Regions from separate parts of the Homo sapiens genome. Here all the other regions are linked to region 3. The links are contacts of gene promoters, found by promoter capture Hi-C in human tissues and cell types (Jung and others, 2019). All regions are on one chromosome and are shown on one strand. Each heading gives the region's core, a stretch centred on a gene start or on the middle of the fragment in contact. The rest is flanking DNA. Distances are from core to core; before and after follow the strand shown.

Region 1 (4,346 bases), core at 1,565-4,064, 35 kb before region 3:
GCATGCCTGTAGTCCCAGCTACTTGGGAGGCTGAGGCAGGAGAATTGCTTGAACCTGAGAGACAGAGGTTGCAGTGAGCCCAGATCACACCACTGCATTCCACCCTGGGTGACAGAGCAAGACTCTGTCTCCAAAATAAATAAATAATACATAAATATAAAAATTTTAAAAAATGGATGAATTAGAGGTAGATGTATCAACATGGATAAATGCTAAGTGAATACAACAAGAGATATGTACAGTATAATGCCATTTGCCCAAAGCCTAAGAAGCATGCAAAACACTTATTTATCTATTCATTGTCAGTTTCCCTCTCCAGAATGTCAGTTCATGAGGCGATTGTCTTGTTCACTGCTGTGTCTCTAGTTCCTAGACTTGGGCATGGCACGTAGAAGACACTCAATAAATATTCGGTGAAAGAATGAATTCCCCCCTCAAATTCAGGCCAGTAGTTACCCTTTGGTGGAAGGGAAGGAAGGAGAGAGACTAGAGAGGGATACTCAGAGGGCTTCAATTATTCATGAGTGTTTTATTATTTAAGAAAATATGAAGCAGAGCAAAATACTAACTTTGATAAAGCTGAATGTGCATTCAATGTTTTTTATTATTCTTTATGGCTTTCCATATGTTGGAACATTTCTGCATAATATTTAAAAATATGTCAGTAGGTGATTACATGGAAGCTACCAATTCTGTGTTTGGTTTCGTGGGTGAAAAGCCTCCAGTACTGTCATTATGACTACTTCTTTCCATGGCACAGAATTAAGTCCTGGAGGCCCAATCTAGTCTGCCTTTGGAAGAACTCTTGCGCTGTATTTGGGGCAGCTCAATTCCTTTCATGGAGTCCAAGCACTTCAGCGTGCTTCAAGGAGGTGGGAAATATCCGATGCCTTCTGCAATCAACTGGTCTGTGCTGTGAGAGGAGAAAAGCTCTCAAGCTTCTCTACTCAAAGTATGGTTTCCCTAACAAGCAGCACTGGGATCAGCTGGAAGCTTGTTAGAAAGGCCTGACCAGAGCTACTGCTTCAGAATCTACATTTTAACAAACTGATTATAGATTTGCTTGATAGCCATTGTCCAGCTATGACTGCCTGAGGCTATGAATGGTGCAGATGCCTTCCTAAGAATCCTCTCTCTGTCATGCCTGTAATTCCAGCACTTTGAGAGGCCAAGGCGGGCAGATCACCTGAGGTCGGGAGTTTGAGACCAGCCTGACCAACATGGAGAAACCCCATCTCTACTAAAAATACAGTAATTAGGCCGGGCACGGTGGCTCACACCTGTAATCCCAGCACTTTGGGAGGCCGAGGCAGGCGGATCACGAGGACAGGAGATCGAGACCATCCTGGCTAACACGGTGAAACCCTGTCTCTAATAAACATACACAAAATTAGCCGGGCGCAGTGGTGGGTGCCTGTAGTCCTAGCTACTTGGGAGGCTGAGGCAGGAGAATGGCATGAACCTGGGAGGCAGAGTTTGCAGTGAGCCAAGATCGCGCCACTGCACCCCAGCCTGGCCGATAGAGCAAGACTGGTCTCAAAAAAACACACAAAAAAACAAAAAAAAACAATAATTAGCTGGGTGTGGTGGTGCATGCCTGTAATCCCAGCTACTGGGGAGGCCGAGGCAGGAGAATCGCTTGAGCCCAGCGGGGCAGAGGTTGCGGTGAGCCGAGATCATGCCATTGCACTCCAGCCTGGGCAACAAGAGGGAAACTCCCTCTATAAGTAATCATCATCATCCTCCTCCTCCTCCTTCTGGCCTCCCAAAGTGCAGGAGGGAGGATTGCTTGAGCTCAGAAGTTCAAGACCAGCATAGGCACCATGGCGAGACCCTGTCTGTTCAAAAATCTAAAACATTAGCCAGGCATGGTGGCACATGCCTGTGGTCCTCATTACTTGAAAGTTTGAGGCAGGCGGATCTTTTGAGCCCAGGAGGTTGAGGCTGCAGTAAGCCGTGATCATGCCACTGCACTCCAGCCTGAGGGACAGAATGAGATCCCACCTCAAAAAAAAAAGAAAATTATCTTTCCTTCTCTTTCCAATCTAGATGGCACTTTCTCAGCTCTTTTTAGAACAGCTTGCTGATTTGCAAGACCTTACACCACATTCTTTGAGCAACCAAACCAGGACTTTCATCAGGCAGGATCTCACAGAATCACGAGTGTGCAAATATAATAGTGCTGGTTTAAAGCAGTTGGACACCAGGAACAAGGTGATAATTACAAAAGTGACAACCTGTCCTCACCTGGCCTGGAACGTAAAAGAATCTGAGAATGTATTTCTTGAGCTATGAAAGTTCTCCTTCGTTTAGCAAGAGGTTTCATTTTACCCACCCACAACATATTTAATACTTGTAGAATTTTATGGCTTCCACACGCTATTTTATCCACACTTGTCAGATCCACCCTGGACTGTGTTTGAGAAAGAAATCACAAAGATAAAGCACAAAGCTGCTCCTGCTTCGAAGAGGCACACTTGCCCTGCCCACCACACACAACCCTCCTCCCTCCTTTTGCCCAGGCAGAGTTATTTCAAACCACCTGATTATTTTTCTTTCTGGGCTGCCCCAAATGAGATAACGGATGCATTGGGCTTAACAGTAGCTATGGCAGAAGAGAGGCCCAAGAAGCGGCTCAGTTTCTTACTTGGCATCCGGCGCTGCTCCATGTCTGGTTGTGGATCTCCCAGTAGTAACACTGAGTGACGGCGGTGATGACCGAGACCAAGCTGGGTGTCTGCTGAGCACCCTCCTGCCTCTCACTCAGCACAGCTGTTATATAGTAGGTGCCAATCCCGTGCTGCAGATGCTCTGGATTCAGCACCCACGTGTACTCCTCATCTTAGAACAAAGAAGAGTGCTTACTTGTATATCAAATGGAACAAAAACACCAATGAACCTCTCTTCTAAAGGATCTATTATTAATATTTTACAAATGAGACCATGATGAAACTAGAGTCACAAATGATTTGAAAGAAAATGACCAGTGATACAACCCTGGGCTCTGGATTACTACTGTTCCAGTAAAGAACTACAGTCTTTTGGCCAGGTGTGGTGACTCACGCCTATAATCTCAGCACTTTGGGAAGCTGATGCGGGCGGATCACTTGAGGTCAGGAGTTCGAGACCAGCCTGGTGAACATGGTGAAACCCCATCTCTACTAAAAATACAAAAATTAGTGGGGTGTGGTGATGTGAGCCTGTAATCCCAGCTACTCAGGAGGCTGAGGCAGGAAAATTGCTTGAACTTGGGAGGTGGAAGTTGCAGTGAGCCGAAATCGCACCACTATACTCTAGCCTGGGCAACAGAGTGAGATTTTGTCTCAAAAAAAAAAAAAAATATATATATTCTTCTGGTATGTGAACATGTGAACATTTAGGTCTAATGATTTAGAATGTATTACGAGGTTTAGAAAAATGAAATGAGCACATATCTAAGTTAGCAGATAGAAGACTAAGGTAACAAACCCCAGGGTGAAGCAAACATAGAGATAGGGCAGCTTCAGGAACAAAGCCCAGGACTGCACGCTAGGGACCGGAGGTCGGGCCTGGCTCTGTCACCAGCTGGCTGGTAGGGGCTAAGGTGAGTCATCCAGTCTCTCTGGGCCTCAGCTTTCTCATCTTTCAAATAGTCCTGTCTCTCAAAAAAAGGTTCCTGAAGGCCCCTTCCGGCTCTGAATGACATATCATTGCCAAGATCACCAAGAAAAACTGAGTCCATGGCCAGGCGCAGTGGCTCAGGCCTATAATCCAAGCACTTTGGGAGGTTAAGGCAGGAGGATTATTTGAGCCCAGGAGTTTGAGACCTAGCTTGGCGAACATGGCAAAACCCTGTCTCTACTAAAAACACAAAAAATTAGCCAGGCATGGTGGCATATGCGCCTGCAGTCCCAGCTGCTTGGGAGGCTGAGGCATGAGAATCGCTTGAGCCCAGGAGGCGGAGGCTACAGTGAGTGGAGATCGCACCACTGCGCTCCACCCTGGGCGACACAGTGAGCCTGTCTCAAAACAGAAACAGAAACAAAACTGAGTACACCTTTGGAATTGGGAAAGGGCCCGTTGGTAATTTCCACAGATTCTGTAGTGGGCAGCCTGGTAGTGAGCATTGCTGCCTCGGGGACTTTGCCTAAAAGCAAGAACTTAGAAGTGATTGTTCCTGTGTGAGTGGTGCCCATGCGAGAGCCAGAGAAAGTTCTTTCCAGTATGGAAGGTGGTCATGACGGGAGACTGTAGCATGCTTTCTCCATTCAGATTTTTCCCAACGTAAAAATAAATACAGAAGTGTAGCTCTTATTAAGACTTTTCAGTACTATATTTAAAGTTGATACCCACAGAGCATGGTTTTG
Region 2 (3,970 bases), core at 952-3,451, 53 kb before region 3:
CAATCTCGGCTCACTGCAACCTCCGCCTCCTGGGTTTAAGCAATTCAACCATCAGATCTCATGAGAACTCACTATCATGGGAAAAGCATGGGAGAAACTGCCCCCATGATCCAGTCACCTCCCAGCAAGTCCTCCCCCCGCCCCAACACAGGGGGATTACAGTTGGACGTGAGATTTGGGTGGGGACACAGAGCCAAACCATATCACACCACATGATTCTGTTTCTTTCTAATCCTGAAAGTAAGGGTAGTGGAGTTTAGTTAAAGTATTGCATAGTAGGCTGGGCATGGTGACTCGTGCCTGTAATCCTAGCACTTCAGGAGGCTGAGGCAGGAGGATCACTTGAGGCCAGGAGTTCTAGACCAGCCTGGGTAACAGAGCAAGACCCTGTCTCAAAAAAAAAAAAGGATTGCTTACTACAAACAACACACATCAGGGCTCATCCATACTTTGCTCATCTCTCTTGGCAGTGGTGCTGTTTATCTTCCAGAACATAACATTGATGACCATGTTGCAGAGTAGCAGTGTCATGCAGCAAGACAGCCGTTGGACCCTTGTAAACTGGTTCCAGGGATGCCGAGTTGCAATTGAAAGCCACAGATAATCCTGGGTGAACTTTTCCACAATCATGGAGGAAAACAGATGTCTGAAAAGAGAAATCAGAAGAGGAAATACATGAGATTTTATTCTGAAAGTGCACCAGTTTAAGATGTGATTTGCCCAGCAACAAGCGACATAGCAACTCCCAAGCCTCTATTCAACACCTCTGTGAATAAGCTTTCAGATATTTTAATTCTTTTTTTATTTTAAATTCTTTTACCATCACCCGAATGTGTCCATGTAAGATTCTTTTGTTGTTTTAGGATAAAAGGTTGTTGAGGATAATTTATATGCTATGCGAGTTTAAAATTAAAAATGGTTGTTTTAGCTTTATAAGAGTTTTGATGAATTTTTTACTCTTCAAAAGTTTACATTAAACTTCTGCTCAAAATAGTTTGGTAAATTCATACTCTGAGCACTTTCTCTACTCCAAATATGGAGGAACTATAAATAATATATAAAAAGAAAGAACCAAAAAGACTTTGCTGGGCTTAAACACAAAATAAACCTTTTCTGAGGAAGAGAAGCAGAATGAGAAAACAAGGTGGTCAGAGTGAGGTAGAAGCCACAGGATTACTGAGCTCCAGACCTGGAGGAAGGTAGTACAAAAGTGGGAGTTTGACTTTTGTACAGTAACTGAAACTAAAAATGATTCACTGGGTGCAGAAAAGGGAGGGACAAAGCCAACTTCATTGCTAGAAGCCAGTGTTGAGCCTGGAGCTCATGAAAGGATACTTGAGAACAAAAAAACCTCTGTAGGGCTACACATTTATAGTAAGGAGGTGAGAAAAAAAGGACAGCTTCATGACCAGGAACTAAGTCAAGAGATCCAAGGCTCATGACAAGATCTGCAATACTCCTAGTTCCATTAATTTCATTGAAAAATAGGAGCTCCAAGGTCCCATATAATAAGGCCCAGTTCTAGACTGGAGATGTGAAGGGTTGGAATGAAAACAGTAGCAAAACCAGTCACGGGTGGTGTTTGTGGTGGAAGGGGTGGAAGGGATGGTATGTGTGTGTGTGTGGAGGTGCAGTGGCAGGGAGAGGAGTGGGAGGGAGAGGGAAAGTAATAATCCAGCCCAAAAGAAATTAATTTAATGGGACCCAGGAGGCAGAGGTTGCAGTGAGCTGAGATCGCACCACTGCACTCCAGCCTGGGCTACAGAGAGACTCCATCTAAAAAACAAACAAAAAAAGGGGTGTATATAAACACACACACATAACAGAATATCATTTAGTTTTTTGTTTTTGAGACAGGGTCTTGCTGCGTCACCCAGGTTGGAGTGGAGTGCAGTGGTGAGATCTCAGCTCATTGCAACCTCCATCCCCCTGGCTCAAGTGATCCTCCCACCTCAGTGGTGTGCAGGTGCACACCACTACACCTAATAGGGCTTAGCTGTATCCCCACCCAAATCTCATCTTGAATTGTAGTTTCCACAATCCTCTCCTCTGTCATGGGAGGAACCAGGTGGAGATAACTGAATCATGGGGTCAGTTTCCCCCATCCTGTTCTTGTGATCGTGAGCGAGTTCTCACAAGACCTGATGGTTTTATAAGGTGCTCCCCACTTCACTGGGCACTCATTCTCCTTGCTGCCATGTGAAGAAGGATGTGTTTGCTTCCCCTTCTGCCATGATTGTAAGTCTCCTGAGGCCTCCCAAGCCATGCTTAACTGTGAGTCAATTAAACGTCTTTCCTTTACAAATTACCCAGTCTTAGGTACGTCTCCATAGCAGCATGAGAATAGACTAAATATAACACCTGGCTAAATTTTGTATTTTTTGTAGAGATGGAGTTTTACCATGTTGCCCAGGCTGGTCTCGAACTCCTGAGCTCAAGTGATCCACTTGTCTCAGCCTCCCAAAGCGCTGGGATTCCAGGTGTGAGCCACTGCACCTGGCCCATCATTTAGCTTTAAAAAGGAAGGAATTTTTTTTTTTTTTTTTTTTTTTTGTGAGATGGAGTTTCACTCTTGTCACCTAGGATGGAGTGCAATGGCCTGATCTTGGCTCACTGCAACCTTCACCTCCCAAGTTCAAGCAATCCTTCTGTGTCAGCCTCCCAAGTAGCTGGGATTACAGGCAACCACAGCCATGCCTGGCTAATTTTTGTATTTTTAGTAGAGATGGAGTTTCACCATGTTGGCCAAGCTATCTCAAACTCCGGACCTCTGGTGATCCACCCGACCCGGCCTCCCAAAGTGCTGAGATTACAGGTGTGAGCCACCGCACCCGGCCCAAAAAGGAAGGAAATTCTTGCACATGCTACAGCATGAATGAACCTTGAGGACATTGTGATAAATGAAATAAGCCAGTCACCGACAGACAAATACTGTATGGTTCTGCTTACATGAGGAATGTGAAGTAATGAAATTTATAGAAATAGAAAGAATAGTTGCCAAGGGTTGGAAGGGGGAGGGAACAGGAAGTTGTTCAATGGGTGTAGAGTTTCAGTTTTGCAAAGTGAAAAAGCTCTGGAGCTCTGTTGCACAGCAGTATCAATATATATACTACTACTGCACTACACACTTAAAAATGGTGAAGATGGTAAATGTTATGTGTTTTTACCGTAATTTTAAAAGTTGTAAAAACAGTGTAAACATACACATAAATAAATATATAGATTGCAACTCTTCTGCCTTAAAAAATAACTACATGCAGCAGTGATTAAGAATCTATATGATGGACACACAATGCATGAAGATGTAATTTGTATGACAACAATAGCACAAAAGAGTGGGAAAGGAACTGAGCTACAGGAGTGAAGTTTTTGTATACTATTGAAATTAAGTTGATAGTAATCCAGCTAGGTTTTCATAAATTAGAATTTTAATTATAATCCCCAGGGGAGGCATAAAGAAAATAATTTAAAAATATATAGTAAAAGATACGACAAAAGAATACGGTAGACTAGAAAATATCCATTTAACACAGAGAAGGCAGTGATGTCCTCTGGGAGATTCTATGCCAGTAGGTGTGGGTAACTGTTGAACCCCATTTGTGATGGTGATTAAAAAAAAGGCAGTGATAAAGAAACAGAGGAACAAAAAAGATACAATACGTATAGAAAACAAATAGCAAAATGGCAGATATAAACCTTACCTTATTAGTAATTATATCAAATGTAAATAGGTTAAACTCACAAATTAAAAGATAGAGATTGGCAGAATGGACCAAAAAAATGCCTAATCCAACTGTATTCTGTCTACAAGAGACATAATTTAGATATGAAGACACAAATGAATTGAAATTAAAAGGATGGGCCAGTAGTGGTAGCTCACACCTGTAATCCCAGCACTTTGGGAGGAGAAGGTGGGAGGATCATTTGAGGTCAGGAGTTCGAGACCAGCCTGGCCAACATGGTGAAACCC
Region 3 (4,025 bases), core at 412-2,911:
AAGCATAACTTTTACCTTGATAAATGTTTTCAATGATTTCTATTGCATGTAGACTGAAACACCTAGCATGTAAATTATTGCAGTAGAATCTGTCTCTAAGTCTCAGCTGGGTCTGTGAATTTGTTCTAATTTGATAGCTTCATACAACTGATGAAGCTCAAAAATGGCTTGACTCAAGATATTTCATACACCTTTCTTTTGCTCTAATTTCTGCTACGACAATAACCCAGCTATTTCAGCTGATGGCGGGAACACTGCAACTGGACAAAAATGACACGGATGGGTGTAGAGCCTCCAAACAATAAGTATCTGATTAATGCTGTTGACACCTAAGTCTACAGAGGCTATTCTCCAACGGCCAGGACATCATTAGGTAAGACATTTCAAAATTCTTCGTGAGGGCACGATTGCTTCAGAGGACTACAAAGTGACACATTAGGTCGTCATAAATCACCGCAGTACCATCCTGGCTAACACGGTGAAACCCCGTCTCTAAAATACAAAACAATGAGCCGGGCATGGTTGCGGGCGCCTGTAGTCCCAGCTACTCGGGAGGCTGACGCAGGAGAATGGCGTGAACCCGGGAGGCGGAGCTTGTAGTGAGCCGAGATCGCGCCACTGCACTGCAGCCTGGGCAACAGAGCAAGACTCTGTCAAAAAAAAAAAAAAAAAAAAAAAAAAATCACCGCAGTAAACCACACTCCAACGGGCCTGCACACTCAGGGTCTTGATTAGAAACAGTATTTAAAAAAATACCTCCACATCTGTTGCACCACAATGCCAAGGTATAACCAGGGCCACTTTCTCCAGGAGGCACAACAGGCGCAGGGCCAGGGAAGGGCCTCTGACACTTTTAGGATCTCAAGAAATTTTTTTTTTTTGGTTATTTTTCTTTGTTTGTTTTTGAGACAGAGTCTTGCTTTGTCGCCCAGGCTGGAGTGCAGTGGTGCTATCTCGGCTCACTGCAACCTCCACCTTCTGGGTTCAAGCGATTCTCCTGCCTCAGCCTCCCGAGTACCTGGGATTACAGGCGCCTGCCACTACGCCCGGCTAATTTTTGTATTTTATTTTATTTTTTAGTAGACACGGGGTTTTGGGTGTTGACCAGGTCTCGAACTCCTGACCTCAAGTGATCTGCCTGCCTCAGCCTCCCAAAGTGCTGGGACTACAGGCGTGAGCCACCATGCCCGGCCTCAAGAAAATGTTTTAATTTCCTTAAAAAACCTTAAGAAAAATCAACTTTTAAGTTGAAAAAGTTTATATATTAACATATTCATCTTTATATCAACACAGCAGTAAAATTTATTTTTTAAAGTGATAAAAACTGTACAAATATTTCTGGTGTGAAACACAGTGTTTTGATGCTCGCGGACTCTTGGATTCGAGGCTGCGGTAGTACGGACAAACACCGTGCAGCGGCATCTCATCTCCGCCAACAGCCGGCGATCAAGCGGGCAGGCTGGGAGAGGGCGGGCGGAAGAGGCGTGGCCGCCGCTACTGCGCACGTGCACCCAACCAGAACCTGGGGGTGGTGCCGGGCCTTCCCCGCTGCGCGGAGGCGTCCTCTCAACCCTTCTGCCCGGCGACTGGTGGGTTGGCGGCTAAGGGGCGGAGACAAGAGGGGCCGCCACCATCTCCTCCAATGGAAGGGAGACAGGGGCGGGCTTAATGACGGAAGGAGCATGGCGTGGAGACACCTGAAAGTGAGTCCCGCGAGTGAGCAGTGTGGATGGGGGACCAGGGACCGGGGAGGGCGAGAACGGAGAGTCAGGCCGGGCGAGGCATGGACCGAAGGCGGCTCCGGGAGTGTGGGCCCCCCTGGGACGTGTGCGTGTTTCCGGGGTCTCCTGCAAATGCTCGTGCGTGTGCATTTGCACGTGGACTCGGTCAGGCGTGTGCAGACAGCGCCTGCAGGTCTGGGTGGGTGCTGATCTGAGTGTCTGCGCCTGGGCCATGTTTTTGAGCCTGGCACAGGGGTGCTTAGTGAACACATGACCGCCTAGCGTTGTGTGCCGGATCCAACGGGGAATGAAACTAGAGTAGGACATGCTCCCAACCCTTTTAGGTAAAGTTTTGTTAGGGGCGGGGGTCTCTGTGAAAAGTTCTTAGCTGTATCCCCGTATGTAATAGGTGTTCAGAGGCCGGGCGCGGTGGCTCACGCCTGTAATCCCAGCACTTTGGGAGGCCGAGGCGGGTGGATCATGAGGTCAGGAGATCGAGACCATCCTGGCTAACAAGGTGAAACCCCGTCTCTACTAAAAATACAAAAAATTAGCCGGGCGCGGTGGCGGGCGCCTGTAGTCCCAGCTACTCGGGAGGCTGAGGCAGGAGAATGGCGTGAACCCGGGAAGCGGAGCTTGCAGTGAGCCGAGATTGCGCCACTGCAGTCCGCAGTCCGGCCTGGGCGACAGAGCGAGACTCCGTCTCAAAAAAAAAAAAAAAAAAAAAAAAAATAGGTGTTCAGATATTTGTTGATTGACATGGTGGGGGGGAGTACAGTCTCCAAGGGAGGCAATGAATAACCTTGACTTTCTTTTTATATGTTTATTTGAGACGGAGTCTTGGGCTGTCGCCCAGGCTGGAGTGCAGTGGCGCGATCTTGGCTCACTGCAACCTCCGCCTCCCGGGTTCAACCGATTTTCCTGCCTCGGCCTCCTGCGTAGCTGAGATTACAGGCGCGCGCCACCACGACTGGCTAATTTTGGTATTTTTAGTAGAGACTGCAGTTTCACCATGTTGGTCAGGCTGGTCTCGAACTCCTCACCTCGTGAGCCTCCCAAAGTGCTGGGATTACTGGCGTGAGCCACCGCGCTCGGCCTGAGTCTCTTTTTAAAATAAATAAATGGAGAGAGATGGGATCTCACTGTGTTGCCCAGGCTGGTCTAGAACTATTGGCCTCAAGGGATCTTCCCGCCTCAGCCTCCCAAAGTGGTGGGATTACAGGCGTGGGCTACCGCGCCCAGCCAATGAATACTTGATCTACATGTCTTTAGCAGTTTGGAAGGATCCTTAAAAGCAAATCTAATCATGTCATTTCCTGGCTTAGGGAACAAAACCCAAATCTTTATTTTGGCCAAGACTCCTGCTCCTTTCTCCTGCCTCGTCTTAAGCCTTACTTTCCCTCACTCCTCTGTTCCAAACTTTCTCCCTTTTTCATTCTCTTCTGCTACTGAGAGAGCCTTTACACTTTTTCCTCTCCGTACTGCCTTCTGGTTAACTATTTTTTTAAATAATTGAACCAGAATAGGTTCAGAGAGACCCCCATCAACTCGTTTATCCCTTGAGTATCAGCTTTAAGTCATTTCCTTAAGGAAGCCTTTCCTTACCTCTAAGATTAGGTTGAATACTTCCATTACCTTATACTTTTTATCCTTCATCACAGTTGCTATGACTACATATTTGCATGATCATTAATTTCTGTCTGTCGCTTCATAAGATCACACTCTCCATGAGGGTAGGGGCAAGATCTGTTTTGTCATCTTTGCTCAATCAGTATTTGATGAATGACTGAACTAATGAATGAATAACTCAGCATGTGGCAGTGATAGAGAAAAGCATTGTGAACCACTTTTGATCCAATAAGATCTGAAGCTTCTGTTTTATATTTTACACCCCCGTTACCTTGAAATGGAATATATGTATAATGTCTTTGTATGTATACATTTTTGAGAGAGTCTGACTCTGTCGCCCAGGTGGAGTGCAGTGGTGTCATCCCGGCTCACTGCAGCCTGGACCTCCTGGGCTCAAGGGATCCACCCACTTCTGCCTCCCAAGTAGCTGAGACCGCAGGCGCACCACCATGCCTGGCTAATTTTTTATATTTTGTAGAGACGGGGTCTCACTATGTTCCCCAGGCTGGTCTCAAGCGCCTGAGCTCAAGCAGTCCTCCCACTTCAGCCTCCCAAAGTGCCGGGATTACAAGCATGAGCCACCAAGTCCAGCTATGTGCAATTTTTAAAAGCCAGCATAATTAATACCCTAACTGGAATATAAAGGAGAAAATGTAAAAGTAGTTTATATTAATA

The links. The method cuts DNA at HindIII sites, captures the fragments that hold promoters and counts their contacts. A contact is called where the count stands out against the background at its distance.
Region 1: a contact is called between a fragment that was not itself captured here and the fragment with the promoter of DHODH in region 3, in 3 of the 25 tissues and cell types used here (mesenchymal stem cells, ovary and thymus).
Region 2: a contact is called between a fragment that was not itself captured here and the fragment with the promoter of DHODH in region 3, in 2 of the 25 tissues and cell types used here (mesenchymal stem cells and spleen).

The regions. Positions count from the first base shown.
Region 1 is chr16:71,970,677-71,975,022 of GRCh38, forward strand. It overlaps PKD1L3 (polycystin 1 like 3, transient receptor potential channel interacting), which reads right to left. Exons shown (of 30, transcript NM_181536.2): 12 at 2,648-2,841. Among named protein-coding and RNA genes, the nearest start is that of PKD1L3, 28 kb to the right of the region's middle. The HindIII fragment of the contact is 8,318 bases long and covers 1-4,346 here.
Region 2 is chr16:71,953,656-71,957,625 of GRCh38, forward strand. It overlaps PKD1L3 (polycystin 1 like 3, transient receptor potential channel interacting), which reads right to left. Exons shown (of 30, transcript NM_181536.2): 17 at 450-646. Among named protein-coding and RNA genes, the nearest start is that of PKD1L3, 45 kb to the right of the region's middle. The HindIII fragment of the contact is 9,768 bases long and covers 1-3,970 here.
Region 3 is chr16:72,007,083-72,011,107 of GRCh38, forward strand. DHODH (dihydroorotate dehydrogenase (quinone)) reads left to right here and starts at 1,662. Exons shown (of 9, transcript NM_001361.5): 1 at 1,662-1,703. The coding sequence starts at 1,683. RefSeq lists silencers at 1,414-1,513, 1,457-1,656. The HindIII fragment of the contact is 8,550 bases long and covers 1-4,025 here.